Regions from separate parts of the Homo sapiens genome. Here regions 1 and 3 are each linked to region 2. Evidence: promoter capture Hi-C in 16 types of primary human blood cells and fetal thymus (Javierre and others, 2016). All regions are on one chromosome and are shown on one strand. Each heading gives the region's core, a stretch centred on a gene start or on the middle of the fragment in contact. The rest is flanking DNA. Distances are from core to core; before and after follow the strand shown. Region 1 overlaps GAN (gigaxonin). Region 2 holds the start of PLCG2 (phospholipase C gamma 2). Region 3 overlaps GAN (gigaxonin).

Evidence for each region. Contacts are between HindIII fragments. The CHiCAGO score rates a contact against its expected background, and 5 or more counts as called.
Region 1: a fragment that was not itself captured here is called in contact with the fragment with the promoter of PLCG2 in region 2 in 1 of 17 cell types (neutrophils); the score reaches 6.2 in neutrophils.
Region 3: a contact is called between a fragment that was not itself captured here and the fragment with the promoter of PLCG2 in region 2, in 5 of 17 cell types (total B cells, naive B cells, neutrophils and 2 more). The highest score is 8.6, in total B cells.

What each region holds. Positions count from the first base shown.
Region 1 is chr16:81,386,249-81,390,628 of GRCh38, forward strand. GAN (gigaxonin) reads left to right here. Exons shown (of 11, transcript NM_022041.4): 11 at 1-4,380. Among named protein-coding and RNA genes, the nearest start is that of MIR4720, 3.4 kb to the left of the region's middle. RefSeq lists a silencer at 626-820. The HindIII fragment of the contact is 7,296 bases long and covers 1-4,380 here.
Region 2 is chr16:81,777,450-81,781,649 of GRCh38, forward strand. PLCG2 (phospholipase C gamma 2) reads left to right here and starts at 1,842. Exons shown (of 33, transcript NM_002661.5): 1 at 1,842-1,975. RefSeq lists silencers at 1,335-1,629, 1,658-1,927, 1,958-2,057, 2,068-2,147. The HindIII fragment of the contact is 8,410 bases long and covers 1-4,200 here.
Region 3 is chr16:81,367,554-81,371,785 of GRCh38, forward strand. The region is part of intron 9 of GAN (gigaxonin); the gene reads left to right. Among named protein-coding and RNA genes, the nearest start is that of MIR4720, 15 kb to the right of the region's middle. The HindIII fragment of the contact is 4,266 bases long and covers 1-3,865 here.

The sequences.
Region 1 (4,380 bases), core at 1,329-3,828, 390 kb before region 2:
CCTTTTTTTTCATTGAAATAGCAAAGGTAGTAATCTGTATTGGTCAAAGAAACGAGATAATTCCTAGATCTCTGTTTTAGACCAGTAGACCTAACTGTGCTTTCTTAACTTGGATGTTACATGAAACTTAAAAACAAACAAATATGTGTTACAAGTACTTGTGTGTACGTGCATGTGTGTTTGTGCATGTGTCTGTGTGTGTGGAACTTTTGTACCTTTGCATAAAGAAGGTTATTTAACAAAGTGGTACAAACAGTGAACTACTTAATCCTTCTATGGTATCATACACTTCTTTTCCTGGTTAGGTTATGAGACTGGCAGAGGTAGGAGTATATAATGTGCTCAGCTTGTCTTGATTTCAATAAGACATTTGATAAAGTCATTCTTGATCTCTGAATGTGAAAAGGAAGTAGAACAGCCGGGCGCGGTGGCTCACGCCTGTAATCCCAGGACTTTGGGAGGCCAAGGCGGGCAGATCACCTGAGGTCGGCAGTTTGAGACCAGCCTGACCAACGTGGAGAAACCCCGTCTCTATTAAAAATACAAAATTAGCCGGGCATGGTGGCACATGTCTGTAATCCCAGCTACTCGGGAGGCTGAGGCAGGAGAATCTCTTGAACCCAGGAGGCGGAGGTTGCGGTGAGCCGAGATGGTGCCGTTGCACTCCAGCCGGGCAACAAGGGCTAAACTCCATCTCAAAAGAAAAGAAAGAAAGGGAAGTAGAAGTAGGATTTAACAAAGGACCGAGAAGTCGGCTGAATAGCCAGGTTCAGACAGTGTTGGCAAGAACGGATCTTTGGCAAGATCACTTAAGGTGAGCTACTCTAGCAGCATCCTGTTTGACATTTGTATCCATAACTTGAATAAAAATATAGAAGGCAAAGAAGAGTGCTGGGCAAGATGTGTTGGGTGTTAGATCTGCAATACTCTTCATAGTGTAATGGCTAAATGTAAAGTCTTACGTCTCGGTTCAAGAAAGCACGTTGCTATATGAAATTTCAGAAAAAAGTTTTGTTGCGGGGGGTGGGATATTGATCATTTGAACATATGCCAGTTGTTTCTCCTGCCCTAGGGGAGGTTGGCACGGCAACCTTCCCACTCCGTAGGTGGGTAGCCTTGCTGATGGGGCACGTCGTCACCAAGGGACCTGATTGTTGTCATGGTTTTGTCTTGTCCTCCTCCCTGGTGAAAGTCTACTGCAGTTTTATTCTCAGCTCTGGAAGGAGAGGGAACGAGCCTCTGCCTGTGTGTCCTGACCCCTCTTGCCTTGTTTTTGATCTGCTCAGGCCGGGTGCAGTGGCTCACGCCTGTAATCCCAGCACTTTGGGAGGCAAAGGCAGGTGGATCACTTGAGGTCAGGAGTTCAAGACTAGCCTGGCCAACATGGTGAAACCCCGTCTCTACTAAAAATACAAAAATTAGCCGAGTGTGTTGGTGGGCCCCTGTAATCCCAGCTACTCGGGAGGTTGAGGGAGGAGAATCACTTGACCCCAGGAGGCAGAGGTTGAAGTGAGCCAGGATTGTGCCACTGTACTCCAGCCTGGGCGACAGAGGGGGACTCTGTCTCACAAAAAAATAAAAAATTAAAAAAAAAGGTCTGCTCAGAAATAGGGGAAACACGGGATCAAGATCATTAGAGATTTATAGGCTGGGATGCACACCATGTCTTCAGAGCTAGCCGGCTGTGTCTTCTCCCCGTTTCTTTCACTGGTGAATAACCTTTCGTTTGAACCAGCCTTGATTGTTCTCTCCATGTTCCACTGTGGCTCCCCATGGACACTGCTAGGTGGAATCTCTGAGAAAACAGGCACTTCGCAGTCGGCGCATCTTTCTCTGCCAGCTTAGGGATTGCCGTCAAGGTGGAGGAAGGGTATTTTGGCCATGTTCGGAGTCGTTGTTTTTACTCACTCTTCTTGGGATAGCTTTCCCACCCTGCCCTCTGCTCCTCTGTCCCAACCCTCTTCCAGCCTGGTTTTTTTACTGCTTGAATTATGTATCCAAAATAAAAAGGAAAAGAAAGGTGCAGTTGGGGCGGGTTGTTGGGGGCGAGGAGAATAGCCCTTCTGGTTCTTCAGACCACATAATGGCCAGAGCATGAGCCTCACAGATCCCTGAGCAGACCTGCATACTAGCACTTTCCACAACCAGCTGGCCCTGGCTGTGAGAGTCAGATCTGTCCCCAAGGCTCCAGGTCAGAACTTGGACCCAGGTGCCTTCTGAGGCACCGCCAAGGACACATCCCAGCGCCTTAGGCACCTGTAGGCTAGAATGACACCTTCCAGGCCAGCCCCAGAGGCCCTCAGGGCTCCCCCTCCAAGCCGGGAGGGCAGGCAGGCACAGGCCCCGCTCACTACCTCAGCACCCAGTGCAGCCCCAGGCTCCCGGACGTGCTCGGCCCGGTGGCCTCTTGTGTGACAGGCCCTCTGCCATGTCTGTCCGCAGAGCCGGGTGGGGACCCTCCGTGTGGGTCCTCCTCTGTCCCTTTGCAGCTCGCATTCGCCAGAGCGGAGCGCAGCCCTTGTTTCCTTCTTTCCTCTTCAGCTCTGACTTAAAAACACACTATGTTCCAAATCGTTGTGGGATCGGAAACTAGAACTGCTTGTTTCCAGGAGAGACCACCTTTTCATATTTTTTTTAAAAGGAATTTGTGCTTCAAAAGAAACTCCAAAAAATAAATTTATTGTTAGTCTAGCATATGCTCATTGAAATTGACTTATGTTTTATTTTAAAAAATCATGTAGGATCTGGTACATGGGGCGGGCAAAAGGGTATCATCAGCTTAAGAAGTAAAGAAGTGAGCCTTCCATTTGTGTGGGTGATAACATCTTTTTCCTAGATCGTACCTCAAAATTCAGGCTCTCCATGAAAACAAAGATAATCTGAATAAAAATTGTGTGTTGGGAAATGTATCAAGTGACCTTCAGTTAAGAAAAGCACAGGCTGTTTATTAGCACAACTTGCTTCATTAAATAATTCGTGGCTTTTTCTGCCACTGGGGTTCTTTTCGTTTTGAATTCAGCTTGTGTTTGGTTCCTCGGTCTTGTACCCCTTCAGTTCGCCGGCGACGTAATGGTGATACCCTTTGTTTTTTGTATCATACCTTTTGTGAATTGTGACAACCATCCCGTAATCATTGTGGCCTCAGCAGAAGTTTTGAACAATCTTTGCAGCCACTGTTGGGGTGTGTACCAGCAGCCTGGAAGTGACCAGCAGAGCTGACAAAAGCACCCCCTGCTCTGCCCACCTCCGCAGAGTCCTGTCCTCATCAGAAACGGTATCGCGGATGCTCCTCAGGTAGGCGTAGGCAGACTTCATTGTGTGTTAGCAGTGACAGTGATGTCTGTACCTATCTGTGAGTGAGACCCATTCATGACACACTAGAAATGTGTACATTCTTTTGTTTTCCATCACGGGTATAGGTCTTCTGCCATGAAAGAGAACTATCAAGGAAATTCCTGAAAACAAGATTTGTAAATTCGATTTGACCCTCCCAAATTCAGGGCTGCTCTTTGCAGTGGTCCCTGGCCCAGCAGGTGGCCGGCGTGGCTCCTGTTGGCTCATGCCAGTGTTGTGCTGGACCCTCGAGTATGTGACTGTCACCCTTGTCCAAGACTGGTTTTTAACAGTCTTGATTTGTCATTTTGATGCTTTGAATACTATAAGGAAAATGCCACGAATACCATATAAATACCACACCAATCTGTTGAACATATCTGTGTTTTCTGACATGGGACCTGCAGAATAGTATTTCTTTTAAATCCTGCAACTTTATTATCTAGTAGAATTCCAAGTAGGTCTGCTTAGACACATATTCAGTGAAGATTGTATTGTGTGTGATATTATCCTATCTTTAATAAAGTCCTACTACTGAAAAACAGGGATTTGCAATGAAAATCATAGCTAAATAGGCAGGTTTAGAAAGTTCAAAATATTGGAAGTGCTAGAAGGCTGCAACTTGTAAAATTGTACTCCCCAAGTTCAGTAGGATAGTAGAGAAGTCGTGCTAAGTTGATTTCATTGAAATGTCACGTCTCACATCCTGTGGTCCAAAGGTACTAGTTTGTTTTGTGGAATAATTTTCTGTTCACTTGCTGATAAGAAATTTAGCAGTCAGAAGTAATTTTTAATTAATAACCTTTCTTTTTAAAAGTTGCTTTATGGTTTACAAGTAATACTGATGCAAAAAGGATTTGTTAACCTAAATTAAGTAGCACGCACTTTGTTTACATGCTTCAGTATATTGTGGGGTTGGTCCCTTCTCACGAACCCAGGACCTGTGCTTGGGGAACATTTTGCCATCATGCTGTTCTCTTGTACCAAGGATCAGTGAAAGTGTTTTATCTTTTTTATGTAGTTTGTATTGACTGGATTTTATAACTG
Region 2 (4,200 bases), core at 592-3,091:
AAAAAAAAAGTGAGGCAAAGGAATTGCCCCTAGATGTAGTCATTTTTCCTGGGGAATTGGCCCAATGACTTCAAGTGGTTGATGTCATAATGAGTCCTTCCAAGATCTCTTTAAAAAATTGATGTGTTAAGTGATCTGTGGTGATGAGCACAGCTATACACGCCAGTTGGGAGTGCTGAAAGAAATGAATCCACAGATCTTGTGAAGTCACAAACGAGTCCTATGGCTTGGGATACAACATTGACAGTGAGAGTGATATTCCTCAATTAAAAAACGCTATAACAGGCCGGGTGCAGTGGCTCATGCCTGTAATCCCAGCACTTTGGGAGGCCAAGGTGGGTGGATCACTTGAGGTCAGGAGTTTGAGACCAATCTGGCCAACATAGTGAAACCGCGTCTCTAGTAAAAATACAAAAAATTAGCCAAGCATGATGGCATACACCTATAATCCCAGCTACTCAGGAGGCTGAGGCAGGAGAATCGCTTAAACCTGGGAGGTGGAGGTTGCAGTGAGCCGAGATCGTGCCACTGCACTCCAGCCTGGGCAAGAGAGCAAGACTTTGTCTCAAAAAAAAAAAAAAACAAAAAAAAAACAAAAAAAAAAACAAAAAAAACCAAAAACACACACACACAAAAAAAACGCTATAACAGACCAGTGGCACATGCCTGTGATCCCAGTGCTTTGGGAGGTAGAGGCAGGAGGATTGCTTGAGGTCAGGAGTTCAAGAACAGCCTGGGACACATAGTGAGACCTCATGTCGAAAAAAGAGAAAATTAGCCAAGTGTGGTGTGCCTCTATAGTCCCAGCTCTTCAGGAGGCAGAAGCAGGAGGATCGCTTGAGTCCCGGAGTTCGAGGATGTGGTGAGCTATGATGGCACCACTGCACTCCAGCCTGGGTGACAGAGTGAGACCCTGCCTCTTAGAAAACAGAAGCTATAACTCAAGCAACTTGGAAGTGAAATTCAAGTGCCTGACAGCTGTCTAGGTGCCCCTGAAACTGCCTCTAGTCACAACAAAGATACCTCCATCAAAGAGCATAGGAAGGGTTTGAATCAGATAGCTTCATGCAACACACGAACGGAAAAATAAATTTCTTAAAGAACATATTAGCTTCTTCCCATGAGATCAGGAAAACGGGACATCAATTGTCTGGGGTTCTTTGCTCCTGACTCCCTTTGGGGCTGGCACTATGTTGATCACGTTTTACAGATGGGGAAACTGAGGCTGTCGGTTTTTAAGTGGTCTGCCTAAGGTAGCAGTAAGGGTTGGTCTGACTCCAGCGCAGCCTCAACGAGGGCTTCAAATTAGGGCCATGAATTGGCAATTCCTGGCGGGTAATTGTGAAGAGTATATTTATTTTTAATTTTTATTTATTTATTTTTGAGACGGAGTGTCTCTCGGCCACACCCATCCTAGCTCATTGCTGTCTCGAACTCTCGAGCTCAGACGATCCTCCCGTCTAGGCTTCCCAAAGAGCTGGGATGACAGGCGTGAGCCCGGGCGCCCGGCCGGGAGTGTGTTAAGTATACGGCAAACACCTGGACTGCGGCCGGCTCTCCAGGAATGCCATGATATTGGGGAATTCCCTTTGCACCTGGCCAAGTGGCCTCGGGCAGGTAGCCTCCCCTCGGGTTGCCTCAGTTTCTTCTTTGGCACGCAGAGGCGGGGCTCCAGGCCTGGGCCGCTCCATGGCGGGGAGGGCGCGGGGACGCTGCACTCGGGGTGCGCTCCGAGAGGCGGACCCGGCTGGGCGCGCCTGGGGCGGGGCGAGGCGGGGCGAGGCTGGGCGGTGCGGGGGGCGGCCCCCGAGGATCACGTGGCGCGGCGCCGCGGCCGAAGCAGAAGTAGCGAGCGCCGGCGGCGGAGGGCGTGAGCGGCGCTGAGTGACCCGAGTCGGGACGCGGGCTGCGCGCGCGGGACCCCGGAGCCCAAACCCGGGGCAGGCGGGCAGCTGTGCCCGGGCGGCACGGCCAGGTGAGCTGCCCGGCCGGGAGCGAGGCAGGCAGGGCGCCCAGGGACCTGCGCCCCGCGGGGACCGGCTCCCAGGGCGCTGCGTCCGAGGGGGTCTGCGTCCTGGCTCAGCCGGAGCGGGCAGGGACGGGGCGCACCCTCGGGGACCCCGGCCCGCCGTGCCCGGGGTCCGTTTGGTGACGGCAGGGATCCTGGCCCAGCCGCTGGCCACTTCCTCACCCCGGGCCGGCGCCACCTCTCCGGTCCGTGCGGTGGGGCGGCCCCAGCTTTGAATGGGGACCGGGAGGAAGGTCAGGGGTCGTGTGGGGGCTGGCGTTCAAAACTCCTCTTTTCGAGCGGCTCTGCGTGGGGTGGCGCCGTCTCTCTTGACGGCCCTTGTGCCCAGAGCTCGCGGACGCTCGGAGCCACACTTCCCTGTCTCACTTCGGTGGTTGCGGGTGGCGGGTGGGAGCGATACCGCGGGAGGCGCAGTCCTTCCCGGAGACTTTTGGAGAGCTTGCAGGACACTCGCGATGCCCGCTCCGCAGCTGTCTGCGTAATTATGCGTGTGTCTGTGCGTGTTGTGTTTTGTTGTGTTTTGGAATCCCAAAGAGGGCATTACCCGCACAGCGCAAGAGTTCAGGTTAAAGACGTGCCCCGTTTGGACGGGGAGCTCCTGGATTCCAGCAGGACGGTGGGGCGGGGCTCTCTTGGTACCCTAATCTTGAACTAGGGTGAGAAACTATGGGGGGCGGGGTGGTAAAGGGGTGACATGGCGCGAGGGAAACAGGTGGCCTTGCCCGTCGGAACTTAATTTGAATTTCAGTTCCATCAGTGGGACCCTGGGCAAGTTGAAGAACCTTTTTGAGTCTGTTTCCCCCTCTGGATACTGGAGCCACCCAATTTTCCAGGGCTGTGTCGAGAATTGGGGCTTATTGCTGTTCCACGAGGTTCGCTGAGAATCGGGGCGCATCCATGGAGAGTCCTTGGGCAGTTCCTGACTCTCTGGTTCAAGGGCATTCTCTGGGGCATGGGCCCTCGTCCTTGACTACAGTTCTGCGGGGAAGTTTTACAGAATTTTGAAGTCTATGCCAGCCTCAAGCAGTTTCTCTTGCAAAGGTGTGTGTGCAGTCACGTGTATACCAGCTCAGGGACAATCGTCATTGTGAGCCTCACTGATGTTTAAGTCACCTAATGATGCAGCTGCCTTCCCCCACCAGCGACTGGAGTATGGGCAGTTCCTCTGGAAGTGGAAAAGCACAGACCCCATGAATAGCCCTTTTGCACTCATTGGGTAGAGTCAATGAAAAGCTGCTGGTGAGAAAACTTTTGAAAACATTTCTTGGTCAGGCACGGTGGCTCACACCTGTAATCCCAGCACTTTGGGAGGCCGAGCTGGGCTGATCACTTGAGGTCAAGCGTTCCAGACCAGCCTCACCAACATGGTGAAACCCCATCTCTACTAAAACTACAAAAATTACCTGGGCGTGGTGGTGGCCGCCTGTAATCCCAGCTACCCAGGAGGCTGAGGCAGGAGAATCACTTGAACCCAGGAGGTGGAGGTTGCAGTGAACCCAGATCATGCCACTGCACTCCAGCCTGGGTGACAAGAGAGACTCCATCTCAAGACAAACAAACAAACAAACAAACACACACAAACACTTCTTAATTTAGAAAACAGCAAGAACACAAAGAGAAAAATTTGCCCGTTACATCATCAGTTAATATAAATAAAGTCAAGTTGTATCCTCTACCCTCTCCCAGCCTCCGATAAATAGTAACCACTCTCCTGGATTTACCAGAAGATCACCTTTATAAAAAGGGAATTGTATTATACTCATACAGTTGCAACTATTGTCTGAAGCTATTTTTTTATTGACCTCACAAATCTTTCCAGATCAAATTGCTTATCTATCATCCTCATTCTTTCTGATGGCTACTGAGCGTTCTTCAGTGCATGTGCACCATTATTTATCCAGGAGGCCCCCCACATTGATGAGCAGTTGTTTTCTGTTTTTTTTTCTTTTTTTGTATTTCTATTGCAACTATTGCTTCCGTGATTTTCTGTCGTACATATTGCATCTTTGTGCATGTCTTTCTTTACATGTACAATTGCAGGATCGAAGCATATGCGTGTTTTGCTTTTTAGTAGCTGCTCACAGGTTGCCCTAAAGGAGCAGGGGTGGAATTTACACTCTCACTTGCAGTGGCTGACACCATTCCTTTGAAAATAGTGTATTCCCTCTAAT
Region 3 (4,232 bases), core at 483-2,982, 410 kb before region 2:
AAAATTAATGTATATTCAGTTCCTTATTTCTAAGCTCTCTGATGTTTGTAAATAGAATGAAGAAAGCTGTTAATTTATCTTACCAATATAAGATTCTAACATGTTTAGATAACATTAAACACACATATAACACCAAATGCCATGTATTTAATCTTCAAAACAGCACTCTGAAGCGCATGTAGGTACTGTTACTATTCCTATTTTCCATATGAGGAAAGGGTGAGCGGTGTGCCCACAGACACACAAGGAGCAAGAAGCTGAGGTGGGATCTGAACTCAGGCGTTCTGGCCCCAGAGTCCACCTTTTCAACTACCACGCTAGATTGACTTAAAAATATAGGCTTTCCTATAACTATCGATAGAACAAAATAACATGTAGGAGTAGTTTATTTCTTAAAAGATCAGACGCAAATGTGTTATATTGGCATAGTGTGGAAACTGTAGTTGCCGGATGAGCAGTCCATATTTGATTGGAGACCATGTCGATTGTTTTTAAGTAATCTCTTGTCTTTCCTGTCTTTGTTCCCTATTTTTAGGTTAAAACTTTCTGGGAAAAAAGCCATATCTTATTCTTTTCTGTTTTTCTGAATAAAAGCAAAACTGCTTGAAAGGAAAGCAAAGAAATTGCCATAAAGTATTACCAAGCCAGAGCAACAGCTTCATATACCCAGAATGACGGTTTCTCTATTTCTGTTCCTTGTGTCCATATTCTGTTAGTAACACTACTATCCTCCCAGTCATCCATGTTCAAAAAAGGGTCATCTTGGCTGGCACAGTGGCTGACACCTATAATCCCAGAACTCTGGGAGACCCAGGTGGTAGGATCCCTTGAGCCCAGGAGTTCAAGACAACCCTGAGTAACATAGTGAGACCTTGTCTCTATGAATTTTGAAAAAATTCAAAAATGAGCTGAACATGGTAGTCCACGCCTGTGGTCCCAGCTACTTGGAAGGCTGAGGCAGAAGGATCACTTGAGCCTGGGAAGTGGTGGAAGCTGCAGTAGACCATGATCGTGCCACTACACTCCATCCTGAGTGCCAGAGCAAGACCCTGTCTCAGAAAAGGGAATCATCTTGAATTCTGTCTTGTACTTTGCAACTCATCAGTTGCCAGGTCTGGTCCTTTTTTAAATCTTGGTAGCATTTTTCACATTTCCCACCTTCCCTGCCCCGCTGCTACCCTCACAGTTATTCCTGCATCTGTGTAGTGTCATTAGCCTCTGGCCAGCCTTGCCAGTGCAGTTACTTATTTGTGGTTTTGAAAGATGAACCTGACAAAAATCAGCCAGGCATAGTGGCACATACCTTTTTGCTCAGAGTTTTTGATTGCCCTTCTCAGAATTCTTGACTGTTTCCCACTGCTTACTAAACAAAGGTAATAGTTCTTAGCCACCTACTCAGGGTTCTCCATGATTTGAGGTTAAGAAAAAGTTTCACCCTTTTTTAGTATCTTTCTTTCACATATCGTATACTCCAGCTCACTTTTTAAATCCTCTTGTGTTTTACTGCCTCCGTGCATTCGCTTAGCCTAGATGCCCCTCTACTTTAATTTTTTACAGTATATAAGTTAAATTAACTGTTCTTTGAAGTTGAGATCTGTCAGTTTCCTCTTTTGATTCCTGAATATATAACTAGAATAGACATACTTGACAACTGGCAAAATCACCATGCTGGTTCTCTGACACATGGATTGGGAGCCACCATGACAACAAGGGCTAAGTGGAAGTCCCCGGAGCTCTGCTTCCCTACCAAAATAGAAAACCAGAAACAATACTGCATCCTGGGTGAATCTGCAAAAACCATGCCACCATGAAAGAGTAGAAAATGCAGGAGAGGTGATGCCTATCACATCCCCACTTAATTCACCTAGAAAAAGTAGAAAAGTAAAGTGGATCTCGGAAAATCTTGGAAAATTTTTATTTCAAACATGTTATCAATTTTAAAATGTTTGTGTAGCTTGTTTTTAGGTTTTCCTTTTACTTTGGGTTTCTTTTACTCTTTTCTAGCTTCTTTGGGTAGAATTCTACATTACTCATGGTAGATCTTTTGCTTTTTTTTGAGACGGAGTCTCACTCTGTTGCCCAGGCTGGAGTGCAGTGGCGTGATCTCGGCTCACTGCAAGCTCCACCTGCCGGGTTCACACCATTCTCCTGCCTCAGCCTCCTGAGTAGCTGGGACTACAGGCGCCCGCCACCGCGCCCAGCTAATTTTTAGTAGAGGCAGGGTTTCACCGTGGTCTCGATCTCCTGACCTCTTGATCTGCCCGCCTCGGCCTCCCAAAGTGCTGGGATTACAGGCATGAGCCACCGCGCCCAGCCGATGTTTTGCTTTTTTAATGCACACAGAGAAAGTTTTCATAAACTTAATCAGGTGATCATACTGATCCCAAATTCTTTCCCAGACGTAATATCCTCACACAAATGTTGTATCTTTATGAGGCACAGTTCCCAACCTTAGTATGGCAGCCGTTGACATAGCTAATGTATTTTCTTCATACCAATTTGCAAGGGTCACCAGAAGCAGTTTGCTTTTACTTGTCAGGGGCAACAGTATGCCTCCACAGCCTTGCCTCAGGGCTGTATCAACTAATATATAATGGGCTAATGTCGGCTGTATATTAGTCCACAGAGATTTTAATCATCATGATGTTCCACAAAACATCTCACTGGTCTACCCCACTGACCACATTGTGCTGTTTGTATCTTATGGTTAGGAAGAAACAGGTACTTTCAGATGCCTTTGTAAGACGTGTGAACTAGAGGATAAAAGATGAACCCCACCCCCAACCACATCTGTTTCAGTCATGGTCCAGTCAAGTGGCAAAAACCACACCAGTCTTTTGAACAGGGAAAATGTAATATATGTAATTACCACTAGTAAGAGACAGCTGCTAAAAGTGGGAAAAGAGGACTCTGAAAACTGTAGAAATAGCTAATGTAGGAAGCACAGCTGCTACCTTTAGGGCAGAGGGAAAACACCCAAGGAAGGAACAAATCAGGAAGTATTTTCCCCATCCCACAGGGCTGAGATTCATCCCATTGGAAGTGTGTGTGCTGAGGCCGCTGGAGAGTGTGCACCCCTGGTCTCCTGCATGCTGGTAGGAGCAAGCACAGGAGGAGTGAGAGGAAGGCAGCCGACAGCGGCATAGTGGCCCTTTGGCCCCTGGCCTTGCCAGTCTGCACCCTCTGTGAACAAAAGACCAGCTTCTACACTGGGTTCATTTCTCCCTAGTATTTTCTGTTTCATTGATTCCTACACTCATCTATATTACTTCCATCCTTTTACTTACTTTGGGTTTCTTTTACTCTTTTCTAGCTTCTTCAGGTAGAATTCTAGATTACTTATGGTAGATCTTTTGCTTTTCTAAGGCACACCATGAAAGCCTTCAACTTTCCACAGAGCACCACTCTAGCTGGACATGCTGATATGTTTTATTTTCATGACCATTCAGTCTGCAGTATCATTTTTCCTTCTTCAGATTGGATGGTTTCTGTTGCTCTGTCTTGTTTGCTGCTGCTTTCTTTTGTTATTTCCATCCAGTGAATTTTTTATTTCAAATTTATGTTAGTTATTTATTTATGTTAGTAATTCTAAAATGTTTGTGTACTTTGTTTTTAGGTTTTTAAATTTTCTGTGCTGAAATTTCCTATCTTTCCATCACAAGCATATTTTCCTTTCCCTTACTGAGCATCACTGTGGTAGTTGTGTTCAAGTCCTTGCCTGTTAATTCCAGTATCTGAGTCATCTCAAGAGTTGGCGTCTATTGATTGTTTGCTCCCTTGAGAAATGGGTTCTAATTTTTCTGGCTCTTCTTCTGTTGAGGAGTTCTGGACTGAATCCTGGATATGGTTACTATTATGTTTTTGAAGCTTTGAATTTTCTTATATTGCTTTAGAGTGTTGCTCTGAGTTTTAGTCAGCAATTGACTTGGTTAGACTTAAATTGCAAGCTGTGCCACCTGCCATGGGTGGCAGCTGAAATCTCAGTCCAGTTCTCGAAGCCTCGGTCATAAGCATAGATGGTTCCAGGGTTAGTTGAAGACTTGAGATGAGTGGATGCGCACAAATTGAGGGGTGCTTCTCTACCTCTCCTCTTTCTCAGGTTCTCCACCACACTTTGGAGATCCTGGTTGCCCCAAGACCCCTTTTCCTGATTGCTGAGTCCTGTAGCCAGAAAGATGGCCATATTTTCTCTAGGGGTTTAGCTATCCAGAGCTGCCCCAGTGAGGCTGCCT